Linked DNA regions of Homo sapiens: all the other regions are linked to region 1. The links are contacts of gene promoters, found by promoter capture Hi-C in blood cells and fetal thymus (Javierre and others, 2016). All regions are on one chromosome and are shown on one strand. Each heading gives the region's core, a stretch centred on a gene start or on the middle of the fragment in contact. The rest is flanking DNA. Distances are from core to core; before and after follow the strand shown.

Region 1 (3,004 bases), core at 391-2,890:
TTGTAGGGGGAAAGGGTATGAGTGTTAGAATGAGACCCATTCTGGATGTGGGTATGAAAATGACAGGCATGGGTGGGGTGGCTTTGGAGGAGAGGGGTGCGTGTATGTATGAGGAAAGGGAAGGTGTTTGTGTGTGTAGCTGTATGTGAGGCAGCTGAAACTACAGAAGGATGCCCATGTTTATGCGTATGTCACAGGCAGAGGAGTGTATGGTTGGCAATGGAGAGGAGTGTCTGAGAGTTTGTGTGTGTGTATGTTAGTCAAAATGGGAGGCAACAATGGAGAAATGTCAGTGTGAGCAAATGCAGCAGGCACAAATGGAAGCGGGGGTGGGGGGTGCGCAGCACTGGAGAGGGATGTGCTTGAGGTGGATGGAACAGAGGCAGGCAATCAAAGAATGATGCCTGCCTGTGTGGATATGGCAAGCAGGGAGGCAGGTTGTGTCCCCGTAGAAGGATTTATGTGAGTGCGAGTGTGTGCACCTCAGGGACCAGCAAAAGAGAGCTGTGTCTGACACACGTGGCAGACAGAGCAATAGAGGAGAGCATTTGAGAAGGGGGTATGAATGAGCACATGTGGCTACATATGTATGTCACTGGCCAGCGATAGAAGGATGTCCTTATGTGTGTATATGACAGGAAGGAAGAAGGAGGGCAGCCGGAGGGGGTGTGTGAATAGGCATGTGTTCGCGAGAGCACGCAGAGGCCGAGCAGGGAGGGGGCCGGTGCTAGAGGTGTGTATGTGGTAGGCGGATAGAGGAGGGGGAAGGCATGGGAGGGTGTGAGGGTGTGAGGGTGTGTGAGAGGGTGTGTGCTGCGTGTGCCTGCGCATGCGCGGGGGAGGGGAAGCACTGGAACCTTGAGGATGGAGGGGCAAGGAGGGGGCTGCAATGGAAGGCTTCTGTGCGGGGGCGCGTGCTCGCGACACACGGGGGGTGGGGGGTAGGGGGGACGCAATGTCATAAAAAGAGGTGGGAAAAGGCCATCAGCTCAAACGGGAGACCCCAACCGATGTGGCAGGGGAGAGGGAAAATGAAAGAAAAGGGCGTGCGTGGGTCTAGTTTTCCCTGAGAATAATTATTTTTTCCTTCCAATTTTTTCCCTGGGAACAGTATTTTTACCTAAAAATCTTAACCATTTACCATTTGGCAAAACAACAGCAAAATATGGGAAGAAAGGCCACGGAGTGCTCCGCAAAGGGGCCGAGGAGGGAAGAAGGAAGGAGAGGGGAGGAGAGGCAGGGAGAAGTGGGAGAGGGCCGCGACCACCACTGCCCTCCCAATAGCGATGAAAGCCACTCGAGTGGGGACCGCGCCACACCAAAGGGGTTCCGGCAGCGGAAGATGTGGCCCCAGAACAGGCCGATGGAGGACATGGGCCTCACTCTGCAGTCAGGTCCCGCGTCCGCCCCACCCCTTCCCGAGGGGCGAACCTGAAAAGCAGTTCCCAGGAACCCCCCAAAATCCTCGCCCCCGTGCCCGGCCACTCGCCCCGCGCCCGGCCACTCGCGCCACCGCCAGCGCCCGGATGAATCGAGGAAACAATCAGCCTTTCACTCACCAAGTCCAGAAAGCCACACGCTTTTCAGAGAAGCAGAGCTCTCGGATCTCCGACCGCCACGACCGCCAGAGCCGCTGCTCCCGGTCCCGAGCTCCTCCCCCGCCAGACAGCAGCGGGGCGGGCGGCGACTGCGGCGGCGGAAGTGATTGTGAAGTCAGCTGGAGCCCGCCTCCTTGATGTGGCGGGGGCGGCAGCTGCTCTCCACAAATCAGGGTGGGCCCGAAAGCATTATTTCATCTTAAATGATGAAATCGTCAAGGATACAGAAAAGGACAGCGAAAAATGTCACAAACACCCAGCTTTAACTAATGTTAAACATTTAGCTATATTGCCTTCTGGTTTTTTAATAAATAAAATAAAATCTGCAAATTCTTTCTGATTAAGTCCAATGTGAGAGTAATTACGTTACTACATCACATCCTATGTTACGTGTTATGGTTGTACCGAAAGTATTAAAACTGTGAAACCATATTTAGGGTTGCAGTAAGCTTAAATTTTTTTTAACCTGATGGTTAAAGCAAATTGAAGCTGTTTATGTTGAATTTGTTGCTGCTAATCACAAAACCAAGCTTCTCTGTCCAAGAGATCATAGGACACAACACAGGTTCATATTCTGTTATTGCATTGCAGTTAAAAATATTGTAGTTACGCCTTTTGGATTTATACCATTTTACTGAATTCTGAAGTCTTTAAATTGCGCTTTATAATGGAACTCTAGTATTTACAGCCAATGTAAACATTTCCCATGTTCACAACAGTAGCAAAGTTTTGTTCTTACTGGAAACAAAATGCATAATAGAACAAAAATCTTAGGGGTAACAACATAATAGAAATAAAATGTATAACTTTCAAACCATTAAAGTAATAATATGTGGAACAAAGAGAAAAACTCATTCTTAACAAAGGTCAAGAAATGTTGCTGGGGGGGTACAAAAAAAAGGATGCAAAAAGAAAACAAAAATGCAGGAATCCAAATATATCAGCATGCATTATGGGTTAACATCTCCTAATAAAAACCAAACTCTTATTTTGAGCATTTTGTTTTTAAAAGCTAAGTTATATTCTATTTATGTGAGTTTCACCTAAAGCAGAAATAGGAATAAAAAATATATGAGAGTAAAATACTAGCAGAAAAAAGGGAGAGAGGGAATGAGGGAAGGAAAGAAGCAAAAAAAAAAAAAAGGAAGGAAAGGAAGGAGGAAACAAACTCGTAACAATATCAATATCCTAAACATCGAGAACTCAAAGTAAAAAGAACTAAAGAGAACAAAACAGGTTGCTTTATTCACTGAGAAAGATATGACAAGCTGGTGGTGTGTGCCTGTAGTCCCAACTACTTAGGAGGCTGAAGCAGGAGGATTGTGTGAGCCCAGGAGGTTGAGGCTGAAGTGAGTGAAGATCACGCCACTGCACTCCAGCCTGGACAACCAAGCAAGATGCCATCT
Region 2 (3,023 bases), core at 311-2,810, 650 kb before region 1:
TATGAGCTGAGATTGCGCCATTGCACTCCAGCCTGGGCAACAAAAGCCAAACTCCATCTCAAAAAAAAAAAAAAAAATCAATAGCCCTAGGTTCTGGTCCCACCTCCACATATAAAGCTAGGCAAGTCATTTCCTTCTCAGCTTCATTTTTTGTATTTGTGAACTGAGCATGATTATACTTGCCTTGTCTAATGCAGTCTCTGACTGGTAAAGTGCCTTGGCTATAGTCTTTTTTTCTTAGAATATGGGGTAGGGAACCTAGGTCTGCTGATTGTTTGTCCATTGGTCTTTAATTATAGCGTGCCAGCATGTGTCTTAGTAGATGGGGAGAAGGAAAGGGTGATTTGTGGGATATGAAATAAGCGAAACTGGAAGTCTATGTAAAGAAGTGCATTCAGGATTAGGGGACAGGGAGGGCAGGTGGTGGGAGAGGAGAGGTAGGAAGGCTTGGCCAGCCAAAGAGAGCCTTGATGTCTGAATTCTAGGAGGGAGAGAGGTAGATATTAGAATAAAGACAGAAAATATTACCTTCGCTTCTGTCTTTTCTTGTCTTGTAGGGGATTTGTGGGGCCCTTTGATCCTTTGTGTGACACTCGCATTGTAAGTACTTGCATTTTCTTTCTTTGTCATTTGAGCTAGACTAGACTTTTTTGTGGATTTCCAAAATTGTGGGGGATTTTGATTGAATATTTCATTTAGGACTTATATGACATGTTGTACATGTTATACTCCTTAGGTATTTAAGCCTCTAAAGTCACTTTCCAAATCAATTAAAATATGATGAAATTAGGCTCACCTTCCTTAACCAATGACATTTTAGTCTGTTTTAGCCATGTCTATTCAACAAACATTTATTTACTTATTTACTCTCCTGTTCCTCCCTATTATTAAACTAAGTGAATTAAGGTTTAAGCACCCTTTGTTTGCAAACATAATTCTCTGTAATCTTACTAAAAATATGAATGAGAATGAGAATAAATTAGGAGAGTTAAAAGCAAGATCATGTTTCAGAGTGTTGTACTTTTCCATACACATTGTAGGTAAAGGAAGAGGACGGGGAAGGAGAAGAAGGTTACACTAGAGAGATGAATATAACCATTGATAGAGCGGGAAAAAATACTGCCCTGGAATTCAGTTCTGAGTTCGCATTCTGACTCTGCTGTCAGCTAGCTATGTGACTTTGGGCTACTAATAACCAATGTTTGTATAATTTTTCCCAGTTTGCAGAAAACTTTAAAATACTTTCTCTTATTTTAACCTCATTGCAATAATTAAAATTATTTTATTTTTCTTTTTTTTTTTGACAAACAAGCTCAGGTTCAAAAAGGTTGAGGATTTAACCAAGATCACATAATCAGTGGTAGACCTGAGATTCAACCTCAGGTTTCCTCACTACCTATTTTGTACCTCTAGGGTTCATTACACATCTCTTCCCACCTGGTCACTCTGGGTCGCCTCTTCCATATCTGTAAAGGGAGTGGTTGAGGGTCCTTTCCAGGCTTAACCCTTTATGGGTCTAAATTCACTAAGTTTCTTGCTGACCTCTCTAATTTTTTAAATTTAAATTGAGCATATATTAATTTAGGTAATAATGTAGAGTACTATTTCTTATGCTTTTAGTAACCATGTTAAGGGATGCAGCCTAATGCCTTGATGGAGGGGTTTATATTAGATGTCCCGAGCATATATATTTTTTTTACTTTTGAAAGTTTAACCTTATAGATTATGTAGTTTAACCCCACTTAGTTGCAGAGAAAACTGGAGTCCCAGGACATCAAGTGACATATCTAGTGACAGAATTAGGATCAGTATCTGGGTCTCTTGCCTTCCAGGCTAGTTAATATTCTTTCCATCATACCATGCTGAAGCAACAGGGATTCCAGACAACAAGTGATGAGTGCTGGCCATTCTTTGCATCTGGTTGTCACGACTTGGAATGGAATATGCATATCATAGAATACAAAAGCCTGTGCATACTGCCAAGTAGCATAGCAGGGCAAGAAAGACTTACAGTGTGACTTCTCTATACTGTTTAATAAGAAGAGGTTGTGAGCTTACAGTTATTATTTTTCTTGGTAATAACACCAAGTCCAAATATTCAAAACAGTTTATATCTGTAAAATTCTTAGACAAAGAAAGGATATTTAAGTGGTTGTTCAACTACTCAATTCCAAAGCAAAACCCTTTAGTAATAATCTGTATGTTTTGATTTTTTAAAAATCAACAACTAAAAAGGTTTATAGACTGTTTCCATTTTTATTTATTATTTTTATTTTGTTTTGAGGCAGTCTCACTCAGTTACCCAGGCTGAGTTGGTGGTGTGATTACAGCTCACTGCAGCCTCAACCTCCCAGGCTCAAGCGATTCTCCCAACTCAGCCTTTCTAGTAGCTAGGACTATAGGCGTGTACCACCATGGCCAACTAATTTTTTATTTTTTGTAGAGACGGGGGTTTCGTCATGTTGCCCAGGCTGGTATCGAACTCCTGGCCTCAAGCGATCTGCCTGTCGTGGCCTCCCAAAGTGCTGAGATTACAGGCTAAGCCACCATACCTGGCCTATTTCCATTTTTAAATATCTCAACTGAAATCTTAACCCAAGAACTACAAATTCTGATGTGTCTAAAGGCTAGAATAGTAACCTAAATGCATGTAGTAGTGATATGGTGACTGTAAGCCCCTTGTACTTATGTCAGTTACACTTGATTGTTGCAGTGTTGGAATGCAGGCTCAATGTTAGAAAGTCTAACAGTTTTTTCAAGAAAATCTAGAAATTCATATTCTTATGTGAAATAAAATAGTGTCAACTTAAATTCAAAATCATCTTAAATATTATATAAGCCCAAGGCCTCATTATATATGAGCCACATTTGACCCTTCAGTTTATAACCTCTGCTTAAAAAAAAGGTCTTCAATAATTCATTTAAACATTTCAACAAGGTCAAATGGAGCACCCCTTGTAGTCCTGAGGCATTTGGAATTTGCAGTAAGGGAGCCTTGCCAAATGCTTGTGTCATTTTCCTTT
Region 3 (3,056 bases), core at 110-2,609, 660 kb before region 1:
TTAGGTGGAATGAGTTAACACATTGGATAAATTAACACACTTAATAGAATGCCTGGCATATAATAATGCAATGTGTTATTTCTTATTATTGGCTACTAACCTGGGAGGCTTAATGGGCTACAAAGAGCCAGTGGAAATTTTTGAGGAGGGAAGAATTTGAAATCATGAATTGGACAACATAATAGAGGGTAAGTTACAGTGGGGGAATATCTGGAATCTAGAGGGCCAGTGAAGCTGTTACAGTAGTTCTGAGAAGAAATGATAAGGATCTGGACAACAGCAGTGGCAGGAGACAAGAGGATTTGAGACAAGGCAGAATCCACGAGGGTTTGTAGCGTGTGAAGGAGGATTTGTCTTAGATCAGTATTTTCCAAACTTTAGTGTGCTAGCAGTCATCTGGGGAATCTTGTTAATTTGCAGGTTCTGATTCAGTTGGTCTGGGATAGGGCCCGAGATTTTGCATTTCTTACAGACTCCCTGGAGATGCTGCTGCTGCTGCTCCCAGTACCACATTTTGAAGAGCATGGCTATAGACACCCAAGAGTATAGTGACACTCTGAACAAAAATAGATAATATATAAGGAGGGTTAGCTGGATGAGGGCCTTAAAAGTTGACTAATTCAGTTTGGGACATGTTTAGTTTGAGATACTGGCAGGCCATTCAATAGATATCCAACAGGCAGTTGGACTTTAAAACATGCACTTCAGGGCGCAGAAGAGGTCTTGCCTAGAGTTGTTGATTTAGGAGTCATCTGCACAGGGTTAAAAAGACAGAATCTTGGGTAATGCCTGTATTTAGGGGGCAGGAAGAAGAGATAGGCTGTAATAATGGCTGCAGTCTGGGGTCTTTTTTTTTTTTTTGAGCCGGAGTTTTGCTCTTGTTGCCCAGGGTTGGAGTGCAATGGTGCCACCTCGGCTCACTGCAACCTCTGCCTCCCAGGTTCAAGTGATTCTCCTGCCTCAGCCTCCCCAAGTAGCTGGGATCACAGGCATGCACCACCATGTGCAGCAAATTTTTGTATTTTTAGTAGAGACAGGGTTTCACAGTGTTGGCCAGGCTGGTCTTGAACTATAGTCTGGGATCTTTGGAAGATCTCAGGCTATGAGGAAGCTGGCCCCAGGTGAAGGGGCTGGCTGGAGACCATGCCACTGGCTACCCCGTCATCCACTCCTGGGAGCCAGGCCTCTTTGAGCTGATTCCTGCTTCATGCTTCCCCGTGTTGATTCCTTTTTCCAGGATTTTGGTCAATAGTATAACCCATTTGCTCCCAGCTATTTTTTTTAGGGTTGCAGTCCCTGCTTTTATTGTGTGTTTTTTGGCCCTGCCTCTACCTGTTCCCCTTACTGGCCCAAGCCAGGCAGAGCAATGTTCATGTGTGTTTCTGTGAGCACATCTATATATGTGCAAGAGCCTGCCTGCTGATGGGAAAGGGGAGGGACATGGATCCAAGTCGCCTTTCCCGCTGAGGGCTAGACAGAGAGCAGGGTCCATTAGCTGAGGTCCTGGAAGTCCTGTCTTTTATACATGGAGCTGGAGGGCCATAGTTCCTGACTCAGCTCATGGAACACTGTTGCTGATTCTTGAAGAGACAAAGGGGAGAGAGTAGGGGATCACATGGGACTTCAGTGACTACAGAGACTTCTGATACCAACTACCTGGAGTTAGGCCAAACTGCACAGGTTAAAAGCACAGTCCTCTACAAGACTGCTCTTCAGACACCAGCCACAATTTTGGGGGTTCCCAGGACCATCCTCACTTCAGAGCAAGTAGCAACAAATTCACGGGTTCCCACGTTCCGCTCAGGTTTATTTCTTTTTTGGCACAATCTCAGCTCACTGCAGCCTCTGCCTTAGCCTCCTGAGTATCTGGGACTACAGGTACATGCCACCATGCCCGGCTAACTTTTGTATTTTGGGTAGAGACGGGGTTTCACCCTGTTGGCCAGGCTGGTCTCGAACTCCTGACCTCAAGTTATCCGCCCATCTTGGCCTCCCAAATTGCTGGGATTACAGGCGTGAGCCACGGCACCTGGCCCTCCCCTCAGGTTTCATAATTCACTAGAATGACTCATAGGACTCAGAACAGCACTCTACTTAAAATTACAGTTTTATTATAGCAAAGGGATACAAATCCAAATGTGCAAAAGAGAGAGATACACAGGGCGAGGTCTGACAGGGTCCCAAACACAAAGATTCCTTGTCTTGTCCCTGTGGATTCAAGACATGTTACCCTCCTGGTTTGCTGGTATGTGACAATATGCAGAGTATTGCCAATCAGGGAAGTTCACTCATGTGTCTATAGTTTTTATTGGGGTTTCATTATGATTAATTGGACCATTGCTCACATAATGGAACTCAATCTCCAGGGTCCCACCACTCCCGAAAGTTTGGGCTTATATGTTGTGACTTAAAGCCCCAAACCTCTAGTCATATGTGCGGTGTTTCTGACGTGGTTAGCCCCCATCCTGAGTCATCACCAGAGTACAAACTACGTAAGGGCCTACTGTGACTCACCTGTAAGCATAAACTACCAGAGCCCCTGTGAATATCAAAAATACTCCTCTGTCATTCAGGAAATTCTAAGTTTAGAGGCTAACTCTCAAGTACAGGGGACAAAGGCCAGCTAAATTCTTTATTATACAGTAGTGACAGAACTGGAATTGACTCCATGGGAATCTTGAACTTGAGCTAACATTTATCCAGCCCCTATTGTGTTCCTGTATTAATACATTTCTTCCTCACAATAACCCTGTGATGATGGTACCATTATCTCAATTTTACAGAGGAGGAAACTGAAGCACAGAGAGGCTAAGTAACCTGCTCAGTGTCACATGGATAGTACAAGATGGAACTGGGATTTGAACTCAGGCTATTTGGCCTGCACTCTTAACCAGTATTCTCCAAATACCATGTTGAGCATTGAGTATGTGCTAGGTGCTGTGCAGTGTTATTTATCTTTATAGCAGTATTGTTTCCATGTGAGATCCCTGTTTGACTTTAAAGCCTGTTTTTTTCCTACTGTACTACAATGCTTCTCCTAGCAGTAGCAGGCAACA

Evidence for each region. Contacts are between HindIII fragments. The CHiCAGO score rates a contact against its expected background, and 5 or more counts as called.
Region 2: a contact is called between a fragment that was not itself captured here and the fragment with the promoter of PJA1 in region 1, in 1 of 17 cell types (non-activated CD4 T cells). The highest score is 7.0, in non-activated CD4 T cells.
Region 3: a contact is called between a fragment that was not itself captured here and the fragment with the promoter of PJA1 in region 1, in 9 of 17 cell types (total CD8 T cells, naive CD8 T cells, total B cells and 6 more). The highest score is 15.4, in total CD8 T cells.

The regions. Positions count from the first base shown.
Region 1 is chrX:69,163,813-69,166,816 of GRCh38, forward strand. PJA1 (praja ring finger ubiquitin ligase 1) reads right to left here and starts at 1,641. Exons shown (of 2, transcript NM_001032396.4): 1 at 1,560-1,641. The HindIII fragment of the contact is 4,972 bases long and covers 1-2,045 here.
Region 2 is chrX:68,518,213-68,521,235 of GRCh38, forward strand. It overlaps YIPF6 (Yip1 domain family member 6), which reads left to right. Exons shown (of 7, transcript NM_173834.4): 4 at 558-600. Among named protein-coding and RNA genes, the nearest start is that of YIPF6, 21 kb to the left of the region's middle. The HindIII fragment of the contact is 4,499 bases long and covers 1-3,023 here.
Region 3 is chrX:68,501,984-68,505,039 of GRCh38, forward strand. The region is part of intron 1 of YIPF6 (Yip1 domain family member 6); the gene reads left to right. Among named protein-coding and RNA genes, the nearest start is that of YIPF6, 4.5 kb to the left of the region's middle. The HindIII fragment of the contact is 4,652 bases long and covers 1-3,056 here.